2 separate regions of the Homo sapiens genome follow, and region 1 is linked to region 2. Evidence: promoter capture Hi-C in human tissues and cell types (Jung and others, 2019). All regions are on one chromosome and are shown on one strand. The core of a region is centred on a gene start or on the middle of the fragment in contact, and the rest is flanking DNA. Distances in the headings are between cores, read along the strand shown.

What was found. The method cuts DNA at HindIII sites, captures the fragments that hold promoters and counts their contacts. A contact is called where the count stands out against the background at its distance.
Region 1: a contact is called between a fragment that was not itself captured here and the fragment with the promoter of DNAJB7 in region 2, in 1 of the 25 tissues and cell types used here (dorsolateral prefrontal cortex).

What each region holds. Positions count from the first base shown.
Region 1 is chr22:39,522,871-39,529,842 of GRCh38, forward strand. It overlaps RPS19BP1 (ribosomal protein S19 binding protein 1), which reads right to left. Exons shown (of 4, transcript NM_194326.4): 3 at 6,950-6,972; 4 at 6,223-6,753. The coding sequence ends at 6,622. Among named protein-coding and RNA genes, the nearest start is that of ATF4, 5.8 kb to the left of the region's middle. RefSeq lists enhancers at 50-99, 176-677, 1,551-1,600, 1,701-1,750, 4,213-4,422 and 5 more. The HindIII fragment of the contact is 7,295 bases long and covers 1-6,368 here.
Region 2 is chr22:40,860,863-40,867,895 of GRCh38, forward strand. DNAJB7 (DnaJ heat shock protein family (Hsp40) member B7) reads right to left here and starts at 1,251. Exons shown (of 1, transcript NM_145174.2): 1 at 1-1,251. The coding sequence starts at 1,132. The coding sequence ends at 203. All of the region lies in intron 1 of XPNPEP3 (X-prolyl aminopeptidase 3), which reads left to right. The HindIII fragment of the contact is 4,259 bases long and covers 1-3,622 here.

The DNA of each region.
Region 1 (6,972 bases), core at 1,471-3,970, 1.3 Mb before region 2:
CCCTGGAGCCGTATAGTTGGCCATTTATAGTAAGCTGGGTCCTTTGCCCAGAGCTGAGTGCTGGTTGTGTAGGGGGAGGAGGCTGGAGATCTCTGGGAGATTCAGAGGGAGGGACAGCCTGGGCCTCCACCTGTTTATTCAAGAGGGCTTCATGCCAACAGCTGTCGCATAAAACCCTGAATAAGGTTGCACGGTCTTTGAGATAGCACACAAGATTAGGTTTCACTTGTTACCTGAACAGTTCTGCAGAAGCCTCATCCTGAAGAAAGAAATGGCTCCTTTTGGGAATTGATGCTGAAACAGGACAGGAGCTGAGGGTTGGCCTCCGTTTCTCCTTACGGGGTGGAAGGATGACAGCCTGCGCAGGTTCTGGCTAGAGCTGGGCACAAAGGCAGGCAACAGTTCCTGTGAAGGCTGTTGTGCCTGCTGCTATCTAAACTAGGAGGCCTGACGGCCTCGGGACATGTTAGGATGGATCAGTGCTTAGAAGCCACACCTCACTGCAGCTTCGGACTTCTGGCGGGGCGACTTCGCCTTTCCAGGCAGGCGATGTCTTTTGTCCTGTGTTGCGGATGAATGCTTGAATGCAAAGATCAGCGCAGCCCGGGTAGGTCTGCCCTTCCTCTTGTGTCCTTCGGGATTAGCCTCGTTTTCCGTCTGTGGAAGGTGGTGTAGACCGGGTGTGCCTGGGGAATGGCTGGGAGGAGAGTGAGAGTGAGTGCAGCCCAGGCACTGCTGTAACTGAGCACAGCACATGTGTTCTTTCACCCAGTCCCCGCAGCACACCCGTGAGGCAGACGCCACACCCAGGAGGAATTTTTTTTTTTTGAGATGGAGTCTGGCTCTGTCGCCCAGGCTGGAGTGCAGTGGCGCGATCGCGGCTCACTGCAAGCTCCGCTTCCCGGGTTCACGCCATTCTCCTGCCTCAGCCTGCCGGGTAGCTGGGACTACAGGCGCCTGCCACCACGCCCAGCTAATTATTTTTGTATTTTTAGTAGAGAGGGGGTTTCACCGTGTTAGCCAGGATGGTCTTGATCTCCATCTCCTGACTTCGTGATCCGCCCGCCTCGGCCTCCCAAAGTGCTGGGATTACAGGCGTGAGCCACCGCCACCGCGCCCGGCCTTTTTTTTTTTTTTTTTTTTTTTTTTTGAGACAGGGTCTCTCCGTTGTCCAGGCTAGAGTGCAATGGTGCATTCTCGGGTCACCACAACCTCCACCTCCCGGATTCCAACGATTCTCCTGCCTCCGCCTCCTGAGTAGCTGGGATTACAGACGCCCGCCACCACGCCCAGCTCACCTAGGAGGATTTTGAGCAAAGAGGTAGAGCTGGGATTTGAACCCAGGACGGCTCCAGTCTGGGCTCTTCATTTTGCCTCTTGAGCTGGAAACAAATGGCCCGTAACGACCTGCATGGTGGGGCCCACGTGACCTTTCTGGTGCCCAGCATAGACTGTCACCTGAGAGCCAACTGTTGATGGAATGCATGCAGCTGGTTGTGGAGAAGTGGCCCGAGGCACCACTGGGAGTGGGCATCACACATGGGTCTTGGACCTGGTGCTCTTTGAGGTCTTTCCTGTTGAGATTCTAGAATTCTCCAAAGGCCATGGGCCTCCATCCACATCCAGGTACTAAATAGGTGTTAGGGTGTGGCCAGGAGCATCAGAGTCATCCAGTGCCAGTGGGGGTCGGCCCTCATTTGGCAGACGAGAAACTGAGGCACCAAGAAGGGCAGTGCAGGCCAGTGGTGTGGAGCCAGGATGCTGGGGCTGTGCCCTTCCCAGGCCCCTGCAGCTAAGTCCTCCCACACCCAGAAGGCACCAGCTCAGGTCACAGTGGATTTGCCCTTCTCCCTGACCTCACCTCCTCCCCTCACTGTGCTCCCGGCCTCTCTCCATCTGTCTGCCAAGCTTGGTCCTGCCTCAGAGCCTTGCACTTGCTGTTTTTTTGTAACTTTTTTCTCCATTGAGTTTATCTGTATACAGATGAACTTTCTGTTCTCCATTCCCTAACTACAATATAAGCTCACTCTATGGCAGCAGGTATTTTGCTGTCTTGTTCATTCCCGTATTTCCAGGACTTACAGCAGTGCCTGGGAAATAGCAAAAATGACTGCAGCGAAAATGTTCAAAGAGCTCTGAGGTTCTAGGCGCCTTCCAGTGATGAGCTCAGAGTCCTCCTGAGAGGCTGTGAGGAGGGTCTTATGACTGTAACCCTCTTACTGATGCAGCTAAGACCCAGACTTAGGCACCCCCTTGGGAAGTCTGGCCTATGGGTGGACACTGGCCCATGGGCAGGTGGTATAGGCAGTGATAGTGGCCTGGACAGACCGGCTGGATTTGGCTAGGCAGATATCTGTTCCGGAGAGCCCAGCACAATAAGGGGTACGGGAAGAGGGGGCAGAGATGAAGTTGATGTCTGGCCACCACCCTGCATGTGGCAACTTGTGGCCCCTGCCAGGCCTTGGCCAGCCCAGCCTAGGCTGACCAGGTCAGAGGTGGAGCTGGGCTTTACCCAGTGACCAGGGGCCCGGGGCTGGGGGATAGGAAGGGACCTCACAGGCGGGAGCAGACAGCACTCAGCATTTTCTCCTGCTTTGTGTCTGGGACAAGGCTGTAGGTTGTGGAGAGCAGAGAACGACCTTCATCTTTTCTACAACTAGTCCTGAGTGGGTGCCTGCTCTGCACTACACTGTCTGGGTGCTGGCTACAGCAGTGAGCCAAATAGATAAACATCCCTGCCCTCATGGAGCTTTGCTTCTGGTAAAGGAGACAGGTGGACCCTAAAAAGAAGAAAGAGGTGACGTGTCACATTCAGATGTGACACAGCAGCTGGGTAGGGCTTGGACATGCTGGGCATGCTCCTTAAGACTGGTGCTTAGGGAGTTGCAGGGGTCAGCCCGGCAGGGGACTGGGCTGGGATTGGCAAGGAGAGGCGGCCAGGATATGGGTGTGAAGAGAGGGAACCCCCCCGCTGCCAAACAAGAGAAAGGATGGAGGGCCCATTTCCTGAGATGGGGAAAACCATGGGAAGAGCATGATTTTATTTCAAAGAGGCCAGGGAGAAATAAAAAGTCCCTGGCTTTGGGAGGCCAAGGCAGGTGGATCACAAGGTCAGGAGTTCAAGAACAGCCTGCCCAATATGGTGAAACCCCTATCTCTACTAAAAAATTAGCTGGGCATGGCGGCACGTGCCTGTAATCCCAGCTACTCGGGAGGCTGAGGCAGGAGAATCGTTTGAACCCAGGAGGCAGAGGTTGCAGTGAGCCAAGATCACGCCACTGCACTCCAACCTGAGTGACAGAGTAAGACTCCCATCTCAAAAAAAAAAAAGAAAAAAGAAAAAGCCCTTGCAGTGACACTCAAGTGCCAACCACCCTTGCCCAGGTGCCCCATGAGGTGGGGTGGGGGCTCTCAGCCTAGTTGGGAAACGGAAGGTGGATGCTTAGACCAAGTAGAAAGTGGCAGCTTCAGAAGAGAGAGCAGGGCCTCCCAGCTGGGCTTTGAGGGGTGGGGAGAGTTGTGGACAGAGAATGAGAACACCCCATGAAAGTCAGCCGGGCAGGCTGGGCGCGGTGGCTCACGCCTGTAATCCCAGCACTTTTGGAGGCCGAGGTGGGCGGATCACGAGGTCAGGAGATCGAGACCATCCTGGCTAACATGGTGAAACCCCGTCTCTACTAAAAATACAAAAAAAATTAGGTGTGGTGGTGGGTGCCTGTGGTCCCAGCTACTCAGGAGGCTGAGGCAGGAGAATGGCTTGAACCCAGGAGGCGGAGCTTGCAGTGAGCTGAGATGGCGCCACTGCACTCCAGCCTGGGGGACAGAGCGAAACTCCGTCTCAAAAAAAAAAAAAAAAAAAAAAAAGTCAGCCTGGCAGGAAAGAATGGGGCACACACCAAGTGCCACAGTCCCACTGCCTGTGGCGGAGGCCTTTGCCCAGGCTAAGCTCTGAGCCTGCAGCTGGGCCTCAGCAGAGTCCCATGTTGCAGTCCTGGCCCACTCCTGCCTGGCCCCCTTGGCCAACTCCTCTAGTAGCAAAGAGGGCCAGAGAGTGTGGGGGCTTGAGCAGCCCATCCCACTGTGGAAGACACAGGAAGCCATGGCTGGGGCCCTCCTCTGGGTCATGGGGTGGCTTCCTCAAACCCTGCTTCCCCAAACCACCTGTGACGCTTCCGGTGCTTTCATACCCATCCATGATGTCTAGACTGAGGGAGGCCTCCTGCTTTGTCCTGTCGGCCCTGGGTTGAAGTGACAACTCAGTGTCCTCTTTTTTTGAGACAGGGTCTTGCTGTCACCCAGGCTGAGGTGCAGTAACGCCATCTTGGCTCACTGCAGCCTCTGCCTCTCGGGTCCCAGTGATCTTCCCACCCCAGCCCTTTTCCCCACAAGCAGCTGGGACCATGAGTGCACACCACCATGCCCAGCTAATTATTGTATTTTTTTTGTAGAGATGGAATTTTGCCATGTTGGCCAGGCTGGTCTTGAATTCCTGACCTCAGGTGATCCACCTGCCTCAGCCTCCCACAGTGCTGGGATTACATGTGTGAACCACTATGTCTGGCCTCAGTGTCCTCTTATTTGGGCCCTGTTGGTCACCAGGTCCTGGCCATCACAGCACCTCTTCGGCCCCCCATGGGGACAAACCCTCTCTCCTCCAGTGCTACCCCAGTCACCCCAGCTCCCTGCTGCCTTCCAGACAGCTGCACCAGAACTGCTCAGGGTGACAGTTAAAAGGCAGACTCCTCAGTGTCCTGTCCTTGACCCACTGGACCAGAGTGCCAGCAGTAAACACAAATGACTGTCACCCAGAGGGGCATGGACAGGCACCCAATAGTGTTATTTGGCATTAAGTGTAAGATTTATGGGGAAGCTCACAAGTGGGGAAGCAGCAGGACCCTGGCTCCCATCCTCCTCGTGGGACAGTGCCTGTCACTCTGCACTCTACACAGGGAGGGAGCAGGAAGAACACCTGGGCGATTATGTAACAGTGGGCGTGTTCTTGTTAGAAAGGGGCCCTGGGCCTATGGTCAGCCTGTTCTTCCAGGCGCTAGAGGCTGAGTTGGCTTTTTGTTAAGCCGCTTAAAATATTAAGGCCACTAGTCTCCACGGATATCCAAGTTTCTCTGCCCAGTGGGGTCATTACAGCCCAGCAGGCAGGAAGAGGCCCTGGTCTCTAAGGTTTGGGGTCACAGCACACTCCCTCCCCATCCCCCTGCTGATGGAGGTCGCCTGGAGACAGGACCTGACTCCAGCTCTGCCCCCGGAAGATGTGTGGCCCCCTCATGTCCTCATTTAGGATGGAACACGGTTAAAGACCAGGAACAGACCACCCAGGGCAGTGGGGGAGCAAGTGCTGTTACAAATAACAGGCCCGAAGGCAATGTCGTCAGGGAACCCAGGGAGCCAGATGTCACTCCCATCAAACCCAGCCTCAGGGGACTGCCAGGCTCTCGACCAGCAGCAATGGGAGTCACCACAGCAAAGGAGCCCTTAGGCTATGGTGGGGAGGAGAGAGTTTAGGAGACAAAAGCAGCTGCCTGAAGGCTTCCCAGGTCCCTTCCCCTCAGGCCCCCTGATGAAAGACTCCTGGGCTCTCACTTCTCACCTCTCCTCCGCTGGCCCTGCCTCCGCTTCCGCCTCCTGTCTTCACTCACACAGTCATTCAGTGCCTGCCTGTCCTTCACCTCCTGATCCCACCCCATGCCTGCTGGAAGGGTCCCGCCTGCCTCCCCTCGCCTCCATCCTTCAGCTCAGGCACACCTGAGTGTGAAACCGTTTCTTCAGGTTACCTCCTGAGTCCTCTCTACTGTCCCCTCCCCACTATGACAGGCATTTGACCCCACCTGGCTGCTCACCAGAGCATGAGCCAGAAAAGGAACACACCGGGTGAAATGCTCCGCTCATGGCGGACTCCACGCTCCCCGGGCGCAGGCGGAAGTAGCAACACTCCCACTGCCGGACCCAGCCACCTGCACTGGAACTGCTCCCAGCAGCTATTTTTGCCTCAAGAGTCACCTTTTCAGCTGTGGTGGCCATCCCCAGAGGAGGGAGGCGCCCCTGGCAGCAGAGGTGGGTGTTCTGATGGCTGCCTGCCGGGGCTGGACTGGAGGACTTGTGACCCGGAGCTCAGAAGCACGCTGGGAGATGGGGAAGGCAGCGTGGCGCTTTGGTGCCACAGGAGATGGGAGACACCCTGTGGGGCAGACCAGCAGCAAACACAGCTCTTGGGTTCACATTTATTGTAACTTGGAAGCCCACCCTTCTTCCTACTCCTGGAGCTGTCGTCCCCAAGGGCTCAGGAATTAGCCTTGCTCCACAGCAAACAGCCCAGAGGCCCCACCTGGGCAAAAGCAAACAAAACAGATACGTTCCTTTCCGGCAGGTGCAGATGCTCTGCCCAGGCCTGCGGAAGCCAGCTCCGGTCTGTGTGTAAATCCTCCCCAGGACTTCCGGCCCACCAGCTCCATTCCAGCCTCCACTCGGCTCAGCTCCGCGGCTTCCTCGAGCCAGGCTGGTCCTGCATCGCCATCTGCTGGCCGCGCGGCACGGCCGGTTCCTGGAGCCAGCAGGAGTCGGAGGCTGCAGGGCTTGAAGGCCTCTTCACCGTGCCCTCCAGGGAGCCTAGCTGCCGAAGTATTCCTGCTGGAACTTCTGGAAGTCTTCCTCGGTGAACACGGTGCCCTCAGCCTTCTTCTTCTTGGTCTTGGCCACAGGCCGGTCACAGGCCTTGCGGCCCCGGTTCTGGCGCAAAATCTGGCGAGGGTGCGGGACCGAGGGCCCATCATTTCAAGAGCAGAGGAGGCCCGCAAAGGTCACAGGGGAGTTCGGCGCAGGGCAGGGCTGGCCCAGCCTCCCACCCTATGCTCAGGGCTGAGACCGCCATGGGTCCCTAGGGGAACAGCCTCGGCTCTCACCTCCCAGGTCCCTTCCTATAGTACCCTCGACCAACCTGCTGGCTCACAGACTCAGCCA
Region 2 (7,033 bases), core at 1-2,500:
CAAATTCTTATTAGCACCAACTGTCACCACAAACTCATCCTTTTCTGACATACCCATTCAAAAAAACTACTAACCAAATGTCCACAATCCTGCTAAAAGTGTTGAAAAGCTCTTAGTATAGTATTAAGTGTTATCTACAAAATTTGTGATTAACCAAAACACACACAATTGTGTTCAAATGTTATATATTTGAAGAGTCAATTTAACAATTCCTTTTGGTAGACTTCTTTTGCACCTCTTTACGCTTCTTTTTTTTCCTCTTACCACCCTCTTTGACTCCTGCTGAGAAAATAGGGGGATCTCTGTTGCTGGTAACCCAAGATATACCTCCCTCATCATTGTCCACGAAAGTATATTGAGATACATGTTTGGAGCTGTGAGAATTTGGTGAATAGTTGTTGAATGACTGTGTTCTCCAGCTGCATTCTTTTGCAAAGCCCTCTTCATTGGCCACACTATTTACAAGAAAAAATGTCAACTCTCCATTATCTTCAGCTTCTCTTTCTTGATCACTTTCAATAATTTTCTTTGTATTAATATTTCTGCCATTAACGATTTTGTCTGAAGTTGTAACAGATATGTAGTTGTCCATCCCACTATTATCAAAAGCCAGGGAAGAGAAAGAAGTAAGGCCTTCATGCCCCAATGAACCCTGTGATGTATATCCTGTATCATATGAAGAAAATTTCTCAAAAATTGGATATTCACTGGCAGTGGAGAAAAAGTATCCTGCATCTCTGTTTCTGTTTCCATAGGAGCTTCCTGGACGATTTAACAGGTCCTCAAGCGAGTCTTCAAAGAAGTGAAAAGAAAATGGATCCCTTTCATGAAAAATTTCTTTAAAAACATCATCTGGCTTATGGAATGTGAAGCCGTACTCACATTCATCATCAAAATGACTTCCACCTCCGTTTAATCCTTCTGTGCCATATTTATCATAAATGTCCCGTTTCTCATCATTTGATAATACCTCGTATGCCTCAGCTACTTCTTTGAATTTTCTCTCTGCTTCTTCTTTATTTTCTGGATTTTTATCAGGGTGCCATTTAAGTGCCACTTTATGATAAGCTTTTTTAATGTCCTCAGGTGAAGCATATCTTTGCAGTCCTAGAACTTCATAGTAATCCACCATGTTTTAACAGATAGTTGGAAGTGGGTGTGCTGGGTATTGAGAACCGTGGTTTCCTCAGCTCAGGCTCTGCTGGTGGTGGTGATAGAGGTAGTGACTGCAAATAGGTACACTTTTATGTTAAAGACAATGTTATTACCATGTGCTAAGAGATGAGGATACTGATTATGTGGCAAGCAGAGTTACAAATATGTCAGAGAGGGCTGCATTATGGTGTCATTCTGGGGTCAGTGTAGGGACTGGACCTTCCAAATAGAGCTAGTCCAGAGTCGTACCAGACCATCCTGAATCCTCTGGACTGTTTCCCCTGTATGTTTCCCTGGAAGCTTCAGGCAGTGCCTCATAAGCCAATGGAATCTGTTGCTAATAGCCACAGCATATCCCTTGCATAATATGACCTCTAGATTACTGCGCCTTAATTGCTTCCCAGCTCTTCTATGCTTTGGTTTAGAAAAATGAAGTACTGACTTACGGGTGAAGAAAGTATTCAAACAGTTGACATATTTATTTCAGTCAAGAAACAGTTCAGAGGGAGATACAAACAAGTAACTTAGTTACAATATAATAGTTATGATGAGAGGAAGTACTGGATGCTAAACAATTATATGAGAGACAGCTCAGGCTGGGGGTGTCAATGAAAGCCTCTTGGAGGAAGTAGCCTGATATGTTAACTTTCTGCATGCCAGTGGTAAGTCATTTGAGATTATAGTATCTTTGTCCACCCAAGGTTTACTGCTGTAAAACATGTAATTAAAGATTTGGAAAGTTGTGTGTTTATGTATTCACTGTATAATTATTGATTGTCTACTTTGTGCCAGGCACCGTTTTAGCCACTGGTGATAGCAGTATTGAACAAAAGACACCAGTTTTCCTGGTGCTTGCATTATAATAGAATACAAATAGGAGAACAAATAAAATAATTTAAGATAATGCGATATGTGCTCCAAAAAAAATAGCAATGTGCTGGGGGCAGAGCGCTACTTTAGATTGGTTTTAGAAGGCTTCTGAGGAGATGACATTATTGCTGAGACCTATATGACAGTCAGCCACATAGTGATCTAATATGGTAGCCACTGGCCATGTTGATGGACATTTTGGTTGTTGCCAGTTGGGGCTGTTGGACATAAAGCTAGCACTTATTTCAAGTACAGTGGGAAGCCTTTGTGGGGAGTGGGGAATATGCAAGTTTAATGATGTGATTTACATTTGTAATGGATCAGTGGCTACTATTTGGAAATTCAGTCATGTATGGGAAAGTAGAATTCGAGAGCCAAATTAGAAACAGACCAAAGGTGATTTTCTTTGGGGATAAACTACCAGTAGTCTAGACCCGAATTTAAAGGTCTTATATTCTATACCTGGCTCATTTTATTGTCTGAGAAAATTCCCTGTAATCTTTGTTTTTCCTCCTCTATGTTGTGTTTATTTTATTTTCCATCACATTTATAACCCCTCAGTTAAATGATACGCTAATGAAATCTAAAACTGTAGTGTATGCTTCTAGTCTTTCAAGACCATTTGTCAGGTCTGAATATTTTTTTGCTTTGCATTTTTATATATACTCATTTTTTAGAGGTATTGTGAAATGCTTAAAACTCAATTTAAATTCTCTCCAGTGTATGTGCTTACATGTACTTATGTGTGGCTTACCCATGATTATAATTTGCCTACCACTGGAAATAATAACCAATAATGTCGAAAATTATTTGAGTACCCTCTGAGTCACACTGTAGCAAGTGCTCATTTAACTGACACAGCACTCTAGCAAAATAAATATTTTATGCCCATAAGAAAACAGACGTTCTGAGAGAGAAAGTAATTTGTCTAAGGCTACATAGCTTGTTAGTGAAAAATCTGATTTTTAAACTTGAGTCTAATTTCAAGTTCTCATTCCACTCTACTGCATTTCTCGGACTAGGACTTAAAGAGTTTAGGTTCTAGGCATTCCACAAACAGATACTGAGAACCTGCTGTTACCGGAAAGGGGTCCCAATCCAGACCCCAAGAGATGGTTCTTGGATCTCGTGCAAGAAAGAATTTCAGTGGAATCCACAGAGTAAAGTAAAAGCAAGTTTATTAAGAAAGTAAAGGAATAAAGAATGGCTACTCCATAGGCAGAGCAGCCCCAAGGGCTGCTGGTTGCCCATTTTTATGGTTATTTCTTGATTATATCCTAAACAGGAAGTGGATTATTCATGCTTCCCCATTTCAGACCATATAGGGTAACTTCCTGACGTTGCCATGGCATCTGTAAACTCTTGGGGTGCTGGTGGGAGTGTAGCAGTGAGGACAATCAGAGGTTACTGTCATTGCCATCTTAGTTTTAGTGGGGTTTGGCCAGCTCCTTTTTTTAAGAACATCACAGGTAAAGCTCACAGGAAGGTGACAGTCTAGGAGAAGATGTTCGCAGTGTCTAAATTTGACAGGGACTTATTTTATTTTCATTATTATTGTTACTATTATTATTATTTGAGGTGGAGTTTCGCTCTTATTGCCCAGGCTGGAGTGCAATGGTGGGGTCTTGGCTCACTGCAACATCTACCTCCCGGGTTCAAGCCATTCTCCTGCCTCAGCCCGCTGAGTAGCTGGGATTACAGGCATGCACCACCACGCCCGGCTAATTTTGTATTTTTAGTAGAGAGGGGGTTTCTCCATGTTGGTCAGGCTGATCTCGAACTCCCAACCTCAGGTGATCTGCCCGCCTCAGCCTCCCAAAGCGCTGGGATTACAGGCATGAGCCACCGCACCCAGCTGGTCAGCTTCTTTACTATAACCTACCTGTTTTATTAGCAGGGTTTTTGTGTCCTGCATTTTGTGCTGACTTCCTATTTCATTCTGTGATTAAGACTGCCTTAACTTACTGGGAATGTAGCCCAGTAGGTCTTAGCCTTATTTTACCAAACCCCTACTGAAGATGGAGTTGCTCTGGTTCAAACGCCTCTGACACTATGATACAGAGAAAAGGTAGAAAATAGGAAATTCTGCTCTTAAGAAATTCATATAGTTTGAAAAAACTAATTTCAGTGGAGTGTAAAGTTATAATACGAGCACTTGTTTCTGCAGTTATACCCTTCTTTGTTGATCCTTTGCCTCCCAGCCATCCGCTGTGCCATTTTCTCTGCCTCTTCACAACAAAACTTATCCAGAGTATTGTCTCAGTGTCTTTGCTTTCTTACATCCTATTCCCTCCTTGGCATACTCCAATCTGTCTTCTGTCTTCTTTACTCTGCTAAAATCGCCAGGGTCTCCAGTGATTGATGTTACCATATCCAGTGGTTGTCCTTTTGGCTTCCTTGTATTTTGAAGCACTTGCCACACTGTGAGCCCTCCTCACTTTTTTTTTTTTTTTTTTTTGAGATGGAGTTTCACTCTCGTTGCCCAGGCTAGAGTACAGTGGTGTGATCTCGGCTCACTGCAACCTCTACTTCCCAGGTTCAAGCCATTCTCCTGCTTCAGCCTCCCGAGTAGCTGGGATTACAGGCATGTGCCACCATGCCTGGCTAATTTTGTATTTTTAGTAGAGACAGGGTTTCTCCATGTTGGTCAGGCTGGTCTCGAACTCCCGACCTCAGGTGATCCACTTGCCTCGGCCTCCCAAAGTGCTGGGATTACAGGTGTGAGCCACTGCGCCTGGCATAGTCCTCCCCACTTCTTAAAACACTTGTTTTTTAACTTCCTAAATACCACACTCTTTTTTTGTGGGGGGCGGGGGGGCAGCGGGTAGAGACAGGGTTTAGCCATGTTGGCCAGGCTGGTCCCGAACTCCTGGCCTCAAGTGATCTGTCTGCCTGCCTCGGCCTCCCAAAGTGCTGGGATTACAAGCATGAGCCACCATGCCCAGCACTAAATACTGTACTCTTCTAGTTTTCCTTCTTTCTCCTGTGCTCTTTCTCACACTAAAATATTACAGTGCCAGGCTTTGTTCAGTCTCCCTGGGTAATACCCATTCCCAGGGCTTTAGATGCCATCTGTGTGCTTATAACACCCTAATTTATATATCTAGCCTAGCACTTTTCTCCCTGAAATTAAGATTGCTCTTTGACCTCTCCATTAAATTTATTTCCAATAAATATCTCAGGCTTTCCTGTTGCATGTAGTGGTACAACCATTTATTCACTTGTTCAAGTCAAAAATCAAGAATTATTCTTAATTCCTCTTTTTTCTTTATTTCTTATGTCCAATTAGAAGCCAGACTCATTGACTTTTAACTTCAAAATACATTTCAAATCAAGTCACTGGGAAAATAAAGTCAAATAACAAGTGATCTCTGCTTCCAAAGATTGTTCATAGTAGACTGGCAAACTAATTAGCAATTATGTGAAGTGTAGTAGGTATTAAAATAGAAATCATAGGAGCGTTGGGGAAGACATCTGAAACAAGCAGAACAGAGGCAGTAGGTGTGAGAAGAGTAAGAGAAGTCTCTTGCGTAAGTGATGTTTGAGCTGGTATTTTTTAGAATTTCTGTAATCGTATAAGCAGGCAGTGTCCACTTTAGACTAAGAGAACTATATTTTTTAATGCAAATGCTATTATGATGCAGAATGATTTAGCCGGGGTTCTTCAAGTAGCTTAGTGTGGCTGCAATAATGTTTTTTGAGGATTAGGTCAGATAAGGGAGCAGGATCCAAATCATGAAGTTTCCTAAGCAAAAGAGTTTGAAGCTTATGAACTGGATATTTTTGAAATAGGACTTAACACACCAGCTTTGCTACTAATTATATGACTTCGGGCAAAAGATGTTTAATGTAAGTAAAAAGCTATTGAGACCTTTTTTAAAAATTTACTGGGAATAAACATCTTAATTTATGTCTCCTGTTAAAGTGTTACTTGTTTGCTTTGAATTTAATAAAGTTAAGCTCCCTCTGCTTGAGAGTGGTCCAAAATATGCTAGGATTATTTCATATGAGCATTGAAAAAGGAATCAGTTAACTTTTTATATTCTGAAATTTTACTGCCTAATGAGATTACAGAAGACACTATGTGTGCATGAGTACGTGTGCACGAGCGTGCATGTGGAGAAGGTGCAGGAGGAGAGAAAGAGAAATCACCAATGCAACAGCAGCCTACTCCACCAGTGGGTTAGTGCTGCTGGAGGGAGATGAAAAGATTAGGAAGGTAAGATAGCTTTGAAGGCTTTGTATTCTAAATTAAGGAGTTAGATTTTTAACTGTCACGTGAGGTAGGCATTATCATCATTATTTTACAAACACAGAATCAGACTCAGAGAAGTAATCTGGACAAGGTTACACACTTAGTACCAGAGAAGCTGAGATTCAAACTCAGGTTTATTTGACTTCATAATCTTTGCTCTTATCCCTCCCCCTTGCCGCTCACTAGGTCCTCTCTGTTTAATCTCAACAATCAATACTGTACAATCTCCTTGTGAACATACAATTTCTGTAAGGACTATGAATTATGAATAATAATATATGTATTTGGGAGAGAAGAGTCTTAAAAGTTAATTCCAGTTTGTAGAAGATTGTTTAGAAAAATCATAGCTTCTTCTAAAAAGATTTAAAAAAAAGAAAAATCATAGCTTCTAAGATGATTACAAAGAAATTGGTGTGGGTTTCCAACCTGGGCAACATAGTGAGACCTCATCTCTACCAAAAATAAAAAAAATTAACCAGTCTTGGTGGCACATACCTGTAGTCCCAGCTACTTGGGAGGCTGAGCCACTGACTCCAGCCTGGGCAACAGAGTGAGACTCTGTCTTAAAAATAAATAAATGAATAAATATTGAAGGAGAGAAGGAAGGAAATATTAGTTTGCATTTTTCTAAAGCATCCAAACTGTTGGAGATGGATAAGTGCATTTATACCATGAAGACTTTCTAGATCTATTGTTTCATTTCATTTATTGCCTAAGCCCAGAGGAACAAAGCTGCAGTGAGCTATGATCATG